Linked DNA regions of Homo sapiens: region 2 is linked to region 1. Evidence: promoter capture Hi-C in human tissues and cell types (Jung and others, 2019). All regions are on one chromosome and are shown on one strand. Each heading gives the region's core, a stretch centred on a gene start or on the middle of the fragment in contact. The rest is flanking DNA. Distances are from core to core; before and after follow the strand shown. Region 1 holds the start of AP1G1 (adaptor related protein complex 1 subunit gamma 1). Region 2 has its middle 5.7 kb from the start of TAT-AS1.

The links. The method cuts DNA at HindIII sites, captures the fragments that hold promoters and counts their contacts. A contact is called where the count stands out against the background at its distance.
Region 2: a contact is called between a fragment that was not itself captured here and the fragment with the promoter of AP1G1 in region 1, in 1 of the 25 tissues and cell types used here (thymus).

The regions. Positions count from the first base shown.
Region 1 is chr16:71,805,372-71,810,947 of GRCh38, forward strand. It overlaps AP1G1 (adaptor related protein complex 1 subunit gamma 1), which reads right to left and starts at 3,463. Exons shown (of 23, transcript NM_001128.6): 1 at 3,392-3,463. It overlaps LOC124903714 (a long non-coding RNA gene), which reads left to right and starts at 3,587. Exons shown (of 2, transcript XR_007065110.1): 1 at 3,587-3,831. RefSeq lists enhancers at 2,594-3,241, 3,185-3,874, 4,435-4,514. The HindIII fragment of the contact is 19,553 bases long and covers 2,456-5,576 here.
Region 2 is chr16:71,556,566-71,562,141 of GRCh38, forward strand. No RefSeq gene overlaps it. Among named protein-coding and RNA genes, the nearest start is that of TAT-AS1, 5.7 kb to the right of the region's middle. RefSeq lists an enhancer at 5,175-5,576. The HindIII fragment of the contact is 5,914 bases long and covers 1-5,096 here.

The sequences.
Region 1 (5,576 bases), core at 2,213-4,712:
CCAGGAGGTGGAGGTTGCACAGTGAGCCGAGATCGAGCCACTGCACTCCAGCCTGGGAGACAGAGTAAGACTTTGTCTCAAAAAACAAACAAAAAAGAACTGAAAACAATTCATAAAGCAAGGACAGACTAAATTACAAACACCTAAAACAGTATTTTTAAATGTTCTGAAGCTCTAAGTAAGAGTTTTAAAGTTTTGATAGCAATTAAGTCCTGCTATATACACAAAATTTTAAAATCCTCATCAAATGCAAATAAGGGGATTAAGCATTGTGGAAAATCTGTTTTGGTATGTAGATTGCCAATTCAATTTTTTTAATTAAAAATAATATCTTGGAAAATACTCATTCAACTTTTTAAATTTGTATAAATTAAAAGTTTTGGCCAGGTGAGGTGGCTCACACCTGTAATCTCAGCACTTTGCGAGGCCGAGGCAAGAGGATTGCTTGAGCCCAGCCTGGGCAACATGACAAAACACTATCTATACAAAAAATACAAAAATTAGCCCTGCGTGGTAGCACACGCCTGTAGTCCCAGCTACGTGGAGGGCTGAGGCAGGAGGATCGCTTGAGTCCAGGAGGTCCAGGCTGCAGTGAGCTGAGACCACTGCACTCCAGCCTGGGCAACAGAGTGAGACCCTGTCTCAAACAATAAAAATAATAAAAAAAAAAAAAAAGAGTTTTTATAAATCATAAAGAAGTTGGTTTTGTTTGCATACCACTGATTTTTAAAACTCCTTTTTTAAATAAACACTGGGGTGAAATATCACCAAGGCATTCCTGGCAAATTCTGTACTTTAAAGTTTCACTCTAAAATCTGCCCTCAAATCTAGAACTGCTATCAATGACAGAGGTCAGACCAAAGAACAAGCAACTGCCCCCAAAAGAAAACGGAGGTTTCCTAAACGCAAAGCAGACATTCAAATATGCACTGATCAATGGTGCACTAAACAACACTTTGCTAGGAATTTGTTAAGGCAAAAGGACCCTTTCTACAGTGAATGCAAACTATCTAAGAATGAATTTTTAAAAGTTTAATATTTTTAAATATTTTGGTAGAGACGGAGTCTCATTAGGTTGCCCAGGCTGGCCTCCAACTCCTGGGCTCAAGGGATCCACCTTCCACCTCCCAAAGTGTTGGGATTACAAGCATGAGCCACTGAGCGCCCGCCTGAATGACATTTAAATACCAATATATTAAAGCATGAAAAACACTGAGTTAACTAACATCTATGTGATAGCTCTTCTAACACCTTACTTGAAAAGTCTAAGTCAGAAATGGAACATTTCAGTAGTAACTGCGAGGGCATACTTACTAAATGAGTGAGCATTACATAGGTGTTCAGTGTTTGACAGTTCCTTTAAACCAAAAGAGAAAATTCCATTGCTTCAGGGTAATACAGAACTCACGTATCTAATAGTAACTAATATATTTTTGAAAAATCTGCTTAAATAACAAGATCACTGAGTATTTAAACTGAAAATATTGTTTTCTTCTGAGACATCATATGACCTATAGAGGAATTTATCTACAATCTCATTTCAATAACCTGATAATAATAATGCATCTATAAGTGGCTTAGCAATATTAAAAAGCTTGACTCAATTCAAGTTATAAATTTAAACTTCAACCACTAGACTGTGATCTCAAATAAGTTAATTTCTCTTTTGCAGATGTGAAAACCCAGGCTGAGATGAAATAAGGGTGATTCAATCACACTCGCCTAACTTGAAACGTAGGAAATGTATCAGTGAATAACTGTGAAATACTTTTTGCCAGGCACGGTGGCTCACGCCTGTAATCCTAGCACTTTGGGAGGCCGAGGCGGGCGGATTACCTGAGCTCAGGAGTTCGAGATCTGCCTGGGCAACATGATGAAACCCCATCTCTACTAAAATACAACAACAAAAAATTAGCCGGGCGTGGCGGCGTGTGCCTGTAGTCCCAGCTACTTGGGAGGCTGAGGCAGGAGAACTGCTTGAACCCGGGAGGCGTAGGTTGCAGTGAGCCGAGACCGTGCCACTGCACTCCAGCCTGGAGACAGAGGGAGACTTCGTCTCAAAAAATAAATAAATAAAAATAAAGACATACTTTTTATTCAAGCATGCTAGACTGCAAACATGCCTTTAGAATAAAAGTGACGAGATTACGAGTACTTAGAGGGTTCATATTTTTCAAACGTGAAAGTTAGGGTGTGTGACAAGTTAGGTATTTGACAAGTATTCTAGGGAACGGTGGAAGTGAATATTTAAAATTCAGCTATCCCCAGAAAAACCCAATACATGAAATCATTACAAGTATTTTTTAGAATCAGTCAGCAAAGATCATTACTGTACAAACACTTCAAAGTTAAGGTCACTAAGAAAGCACTAACTCCTCCCTTCTGTTAACTAATCACTGTAAAGCAGCCCAACTCTCCTTTCTACCTACCTCAGATTAATATTTTTCTCCATGGACAGATTTCCGTGCTCAGGGATATATAATAGGGGAGAAAAAAAAATACCACACAAGTGTCAGTAAGCACCAAAAAGCTAAGTATTCAGCACAGGGAGGGAATCCACATATGAGAAAACATTTGACAGCTCTTGCCTCCCAAAAGCCATTTAATCTGCTTCATAAACATAATCTGCTTCATAAACATTACCCTGAGCGAGTGGTTCGATGGATCTCCTACACCGAGTCCTAACCGGGAAACACAATCAACCGAACCGTCCCGACTCTTTCAGGCAATCAGGAAGACCGGGAGAATTATTAGACGCTGACGTCCGCAGGGCCAGGAGCTGAGAAAAGGGTAAACAGTATACTCGCAGGTAGGTTGAAAAAAACAAAACAACAACATATACACACACACACGAAAAATTGGGAAAGAAGTTGGTCGGAAGGTTAGAGAGAGGCGAGGCCGATGTCCGGTTCCGAGAGGACGGCACTGCAGGGGCAGGCAGCGATTAACTGGGCATTTGGATATGCTGGGAGTTATCTGACAGACCTGACACGGGTACAAGACACAAGAACGCTGATACGTGGCTCAGAGAAGACACGCGGGGGTGGGGCCCGCCCCGCTAAACCCCAGGCTCCCTGAATGAGCCCTCAAAGATCGCAGCCTGAGAAAGTCAAGGGTTCAAGGAGGCCCGTACCGGCGGGGCAACGCCACAACACGGAACGCCGCGGCGCGCGGAACCTCCCGGTCCGAGGCCTCGGGGTCGGCCCTCCAGAAGTCGGAGCAGCCCCTGGGGCTCCCGGCCTCTCCTGGCCCAGCTTCTCTGTCTTCTCTTCTCAACACCCACAGCCTGGGACTGGACCCCTGAAACTGAAAGGAAGCTTCCGGTCGAGCGCCCGCGGCAGCGGCGGGGCAAAAGCAGCAATATGCTCTCAGCGCCGGGAGTGACACTCACCGGCCCGAAACCTCGAATGAAACCAGCAGCTCCGGGGGCGGCGGCAGCAGTGGCAGCAGGAACCGAACATCCAAAATGGCGGCTCCCTCGGCCTCACCACCGCTACCGCAGGCGGAGGGATCCTGAGGAAGGAGGGAGTTTTTAACTAACTTCACACACTATTGAGGAAACTTCGCTCCCTGTCCTCCTCTCCTGGTCGTTTCCGTGTCCTCGTACTGCAACTTATCGTGCCTTTTCTCTCGAATTATCCAAGAACTCGGACCCTGCCGAGGACTATTTGCCAAGGAGGAGGCGACTGCTCCTGGCAGAGCGACGCAAACGTAGCAAGGATCGGGGCTGTCACTGATGACGCGAGACGCTGCTGCCGAGTCACCGCTGCGATGAGTCTGAGCGAGAAAGATCCGGCCTACCCCGTAGCGGACGGACATTGGTTCCGCTTGGTGAGGGGGTAGGGGGGTGGGGGGTAGGGGGGTGGGGGGGTAGGGGGGGTGGAGCTGGGCTACCAGGAAGCGGTGGAGCCACCTGGAGGGGGCGGAGCTAAGTCAGGTAGCCCAGGAAGTGAGAGCAAGCGAGACAGGTGGGGGCGGAGAAGACAGCAGGGCTGAAAAGGTCTTCGTCCACGGGAATCCCGAACTCTTTGCTGTCTCCTTTAAGATTTTTGCTTTCTTTATAACTTAAGGAGCATGCTCCAGGTGGTATTCTATGGTTTTATGGTGTCTTTGCAACATATTTTATGAAGAGTTAAGAGGATGACTGAAAAGAATGGATTCCACGCCCGGTACCGCGGTGCTTGCACTGCTCAAGTCACTTAAACTCTCCAGGGATTCAATTTCCTCATATGTAGAAAGAAGACTTGGACTCATGTTAGCTGAAACCCTTACAGAATGGGCTTTCGGTCTATGACTCCATGAATTAATAACCAGGGCCAAAGAAAGTCTAACCAGACAGTTCCTAACCTGATAAATAATTACTAACATATGACGTGAGTCTTTTCCATGTGAATGTAAAGAGGGCCTGATATCTTGGCCTGTTTAAAGGAAAGGTGACCTACCTAGACTAAAATCCTTCTGCTAGATTGGCAACAAAGTACAATACAACACAGCAGCAGGCTGGGTGCCAAAGAGAACAGAACCAACCACACAAAAAAAATTTTTTTTTTTTTTTTGAGACAAAGTCTCGCTCTGTTGCCCAGGCTGGAGTGCAGTGGCGGGATCCCGGCTCACTACAACCTTGCCTCCCGGGGTCAAGCAATTTCTCGTGCTTCAGCCTCGCAAGTAGCTGGGATTACAGGCTCCCGCCACCACGGCCGTCTAATATTTGCATTTTTAGTAGAGAGAGGGTTTCGCCATGTTGGCCAGGCTGGTCTTGAACTCCTGACCTCAGGTGATCTGCCTGCGTCGGCCTCCCAAAGTGTGGAGATGACAGGTGTGAGCCACCGGCCTGGCCAGAACTAACCACAAATCTTGAGTTTAGGATTTGGGTGTCATAGAGAGAAGGTTGCACTTTTTTCCTTAGTCATTTTCATGCAGGGATTTCAAAACACTTAACAAAAATTGCTCTAAGTAGGCCGGGCACAGTGGCTGACGCATGTAATCCCAGTACTTTAGGAGGCCGGGGTGGGCGGATCACCTGAGGTCAGGAGTTCGAGACCAGACTGGCCAACATGGTGAAACTCCATCTCCACTAAAAATACAAAATTAGCCGGGCATGGTGGTGGGCACCTGTAATCCCAGCTACTCGGAAGGCTGAGACAGGAGAATCGCTTGAACCTGGGAGGCAGAGGTTGCAGATAGCCGAGTCTGGGCGACAGAGTGAGACCCTGTCTCACAAAAACAAAAAAAAATTGAACCAAGTAGGCCCATCTGTACAATTTTGTCCCTGAACTACTGGGGCATGCCAAGTGGCTGGAAAGAAAGGAGGCCATGGGTGCGATAATAATTATCATTTGTATTATTAAATATTGATATCACATTGTTCATAAGGCACTTTCATGTGTATAATCTAATCTGACCCTCTGGACAACCTCCTGAGTCAGGCTAGGCAAGCATAAGTAACTTAGTTTTACAAATAAGGAAAAAGAGGCTCCAAGAAACTAACTTGGCTAAAAGACACATCCTCTCCCCTCCTCCACTGGGGTTCTGCTACAGAGCTATAGAGTGCCTTTTTTTTTGAGACAGAGTTTCAC
Region 2 (5,576 bases), core at 890-3,389, 250 kb before region 1:
GTAATCATGGGTTTAGAGTTTAACACTAGTGGAGGAGGACTTAGACCCATGTAAGGCAGGGATTTAAAATTTAGACCTCTCCACAAAGCCAAGCCCTTCCAAATGTTAAGGCTGAGTAACAAGATGGATTATAAAGAAATCTTTCTTATTCTGGCCCCTGGGAAGAAAAAAGAAAACTCTCCCATGACAGTTTGTAAGCATAGGCATTCCTTTACATGGGTTTAGTGTTCAAATGTAACCTACCTGTATGGTCTGGAAACCCCAAAGTTGAGAAATTCACTGAAAAGTGATCCTGATCCATTCCATCAGCAGTTTGTTGTCGTTGTTTTGTTTTGTTTATTTGTTTGTTTTTTGAGATAAAGTCTTGCTCTCGTCCCCCAGGCTGGAGTGTGATGGTGCGATCTCGGCTCACTGCAACCTCCGCCTCCAAGGTTCAAGCGATTCTCCTGCCTCAGCCTCCCCAGTATCTGGGATTACAGGTGCCTGCCACCACACCTGGCTAATTTTTGTATTTTTAGTAGAGATGGGATTTCACCATGTTGGCCAGGCTGGTCTTGAACTCCTGACCTCAGGTGATCTGCCCCCCTGGCCTCCCAAAGTGCTGGGATTACAGGCGTGAGCCACCACGCCCAGCCCCATCAGCAGTTTTAATACTACAAGGAGAGAAAGTCATTGGGGAACCTCTAGCAACCTGCCATATCAGTCAGTATTTTTGTGGCAAAGAAGTATGATCAATAAAATACTTTCAAAGATAAGGATAACGTTAACATAAAACTGGGGTAAAACATAAAACAGAAATACAAGATGAAGAAAGAAAATCATCCTGGCACTTTGGGAGGCCAAAGCAGAAGGATCATTTGAGCCCAGGAGACCAGCCTGGGCAGCATAGTGAGACCCCATCTCTGCAAAAAATACACAAATTAGGCAGGCATGTTGGCATGTAACTATGGTCCGAGCCACTCAGAAGGCTGAGGTGGAAAGATTACTTGAGTCTAGGAGGTCAAGGCTGCAGCGAGCTATGATTGTAATCATGTCATTGCACTCCAGTCTGGGCAACAGAGCAAGATCCTGTTTCAACAACAAAAAAAAGAAGGTAAATTTCTAGTAAATATCCAATATCATCTCTGTTGAAAAATGCATGCTCTAGTTAAATGAACAAGTTAAATGACACCACAAGGAAGCCAACAAACATATCCAGAATGTAGAACATTTTGTAAGACAGCCATTCCTGCAACAAGTCAATGGTATGAAAAGAAAAAAAAAAAAACAGGAGCCTTCTCTAGAGTAAGAGATATTTAAGCTTAAGACATAAAACTAAAAAGTAATGTTTAAACTTTGTTTGAATCCTGATCCAAATAAACCAACTATAAGAAGACATTTTGGAGGCAACCAAAAATATCTTACTATTTGATGTGATGTGGCACTGTGGTTAAGAAATTATGTGTTTAGAGATGTGTACTGAGGCGTATGGGGAGAACTAACGATGTCCAGGATTTGCTTTACAATCTTTTGGCAAAGAAAACAAGAAAAAGAAGGAAGGAACAAAAATGGCAATATCTTGAGAGTCATTAAATCTGAGTGATGGGTATATTGGTGCTAATTATACTACTGCTTCTACTTTTATATATGTTTGAATTTTCAGTCAAGAATTCTAAATTATTTTAGGGAACACATGAACGAAAAAGTGTAAAAACCACTAGTTTATCACACATGCTAATTCTGCTATTTACAGAAACATCTCAGATGTTTTTCTAGAAATTTCTTATTGCTCCCAGTGTGGAAGCCCAACTGACACTTTGCCCTGCTTCCATTATGAAATACCAGAGTCAGGAAAAATAAGCACTTTGTACCCTTAAATGAAACAACAATGATGAGGTCACCCCATCTAGTTCTAGTCCCCAAACTAATTCCTGCAAGTGTGCACTCCTTATCTTTAAAAAACTGAAGTTATCTCTGCCTTTTAGAATGATTATGTCTGAAGTAACATCACAATGTTTGTGACTAGGATGAACATGAGAAAAAGTTACTGTTTTCCACCATGAACAGATAGCTACAAACTGGCAATCTTACATGCTTTTTCTTTTCTTTAAAAACCTAAAAATCCTTTAAATGCCACACAGATATTTGAGTTGATCTCCCTAAAGTCTGACTCCTTTATATCTTTTTTTCCACTCACACAAAAAAAACAGTATTACTGAGACATGATCTACATACCACACAACTCAACCCACTTAAATTGTACAATTCAATGGTTTTTACTTTCTTTAAAGTTGTGTAACCATCACCATTATCAATTTTAGAATATATTCATCACTCCAAAAAGAAACTCTGTACCCATTAGCCATCTCTCTCCATCTCCCACATATGGCCTCACCTCTAGCTCTAGAAGTAACTAATCTATTTTCTGTCTCTATGAGTAATATGATTTGGCTCTGTGTCCTCACCCAAATCTCATGTCGAATTGTAATTCCCAGTGTTGAAGGACAGGCCTGGTGAGAGGTGATTAAATCATGGAGGTGGACTTCCCCCTTGCTGTTCTTGTGATAGAGTTCTCCCAAGATCTGCTTGTTTAAAAGTGTGTAGAACCTCCTCCTACTCCCACTGGCCATGTGAAGATGTCCCTGCTTCCCCTTCACCTTCTGCCATGTGGTAAGTTTCCTGAGGCCTCCCCAGAAGCAGAAAACTATACAGCCTGCAAAACTGTGAGCACAATTAAACCTCTTTTCCTTATGAATTAACCAGTCTCAGGTAGTTCTTCATAGCAGTGTGAGAATGCACTAATACAGAAAATTGGTACTATAGAAGTGGGGCATTACTATAAAGATACCTGAAAATGTGTAAGCAACTTTGCAATTGGATAACAGGCAGAGATTGGAACAGTTTGGAGGGCCCAGAAGATAGGAAGATGGGAGAAAGTTTGGAACTTCCTACAGACTTCTTGAATGGTTGTGACCAAAATGCTGATGGTGATATGGACAGTGAAGTCCAGGCTGAGGAGGTCTCAGATGAAGATGAGGTACTGTGAAACTAATATATCTGAGACAGGTTTCAGTAAATTTAGAAAGTTTATTTTGCCAATGTTGAGGGCACACACCCATCACACAGCCTCAGGAGGTCCTGACAACATGTGCCCAAGGTGGCTGGGGCACAGCTTGGTTTTAGACATTTTAGGGAGACATGAGACATGAGACATCAATCAATATATGTAAGATAAACATTGGTTCTGTCTGGAAAGGTGGGACAACTCAAGCAGGGAGGGGGCTTCCAAGTCACAGGTAAGTGAGAGACAAATGATTGCATTCTTTTGAGTTTCTGATTAGTCTTTCCAAAGGAGACAATCAGATATGCATTTATCTCATTGTGCATAAGGATGACTTTGCATAGAATGAAAGGCAGGTTTGCCATAAGCAGTTCTCAGCTTGACTTTTCCCTTTAGCTTAGCAATTTTGGGGCCCCAAAGTGTATTTTTCTTTCACAGAACTTATTGGGAACTGGAGTAAAGGTTACTCTTGCTATGCTTTAGCAAAGAGACTGGCAGCATTGTGCCCCTGCTCCAGGGACCTGTTGAACTTTGAACTTGAGAGAAATGAGTTAGGGTATCTTTGGAGAAATGCCTATTCAAGTGCCTTTTTAAGTTGGGTCATTTGACTTTTTTGTTGTTGAGTGGCAGGAGTGCTTTATATATTCTAAATGTTAATGCCTCATCAGATATATAATTTTTAAATATTTTCTCCCATTCCATAGGCAGAAGAAAATGCCTTTTCATTTTGATTATGTTCTTTGATGCACAAAGGTTTTTAAGTTCCATTTTTCCTTTTGTTGCCTATGCTTTTGGTGTCATATCCAAGAAATCATTGCCAAATCCAGTATCATGAAGCTTTCCTCCCATGTTTTCTTCTAGGAGTTTTATAGTTTGGGGTATTACATTTAGGTCTTTAGTCTATTTTGAGTTAATTTTTATATATGGTGTAATATAAGGGCCCAGTTTCCTTTGCATGTGGATATCTAGTTTTCCCAAAACCATTTGTTGAAGACACTTTTCTTTCCCCATTCAGTCATCTTGGCACCCTTGTCAAAGATCATTTGACCATATATACAAGGGTTTATTTCTTGGCTATTCTATTTCATTGGCCCATTTATCTGTTTTTATGCCAGTACCACACTGTTCTGATTACTGTGGTTTCGTAATATCTTTTGAAATCAGAAAGTGTGACTCCTTCAACTTTATTCTTCCTTTTCAAAATTTTTTTTGGTTATTCAGGGTCCCTTGAGATTTTGTGTGAATTTTAGGGTGATTTTTTTCTATTTTGAAAAAAAATGCTATTGGGATTTTGATATGGATTGTGTTGAAATCTATTGATCACTTGGGGCAGCATGAATATCTTCACAGCATTAAGTACTGCAATCCATGAGAATGGGACGCCTTCTCATTTATTTGTGTCTCCTTTAGTTTCTTACAGCAATGTTTTGTAGTTTTGATTGTACAAATCTTTTTATTTTTTTTCTGAGACAGAGTCTTGCTCTCTCACCCAGGCTGGAGTGCAGTGGCATGATTGCAGCTCACTGCAGCCTCCACCTCATGGGTTCAAGCAATTCTCCTGCCTCAGACTCTTGAGTAGCTAGGATTACAGGTGTGCACCACCATGCCCAGCTAATTTTTGTATTTTTAGTAGAGATGGGTATTCACCATGTTCATCAGGCTGGTCCCGAATGCCTGACCTCGTGATCCACCCACCTTGTCCTCCCAAAGTGCTGGGATTACAGGCATGAGCCACCATGCCCAGCTGATTGTACAAATAATTTACCTCCTTGCTTAGGTTTATTCCTAAGTATTTTATTCTTTTCGATGCTGTTGTAAGTGGAACTGTTTTCTTAATTTTCTTTTTGGATTGTTCATTGTTAGTGTATAGAAAAGCAACTGACTTTTGCATATCAATTTTGTATTCTACAATTTTGCTGAATTTGGTTATTAGTTCTAACAGAGTTTTTGTGGAATCTTTTAAGGTTTTCTACATATAAGATCATGTCATCTGTGAACAAAGATAATTTTACTTCTTCCTTTCCAATTTGAATGCTACTGGGGGAACCAGCCCCCAATATTTCAACATGGTTCTTTCTATTTTCCCTAAGTGTCGGCTGGTCTGAGAAATAAAGAGAAATAGTACAAAGAGAGGAATTTTACAGCTGGGCCTCTGGGGGTGACATCACATATTGGTAGGACCGTGATGATGACCCCGAGCCGCAAAACCAGCAAGTTTTTATTAGGGATTTTAAAAGGGGAGGGGGTGTACAAACAGGGAGTAGGTCACAAGGATCACATGCTTCAAAGGGCAATAAAGATCACAAGGCAAGGCAAAATTAGAATTACTGATGAGGGTCTATGTCCCACTGTGCACACATTGTCTTGATAAACATCTTAACAGGAAACACGGTTCAAGAGCAGAGAACTGGTCTGACTAGAATTTACCAGGCTGGAATTTCCCAAAGCCTGAGGGTACTGCAGGAGACCAGGGCGTATTTCAGTCCTTATCTTAACGGCGTAAGACAGACACTCCCAGAGCGGCCGTCTATAGACC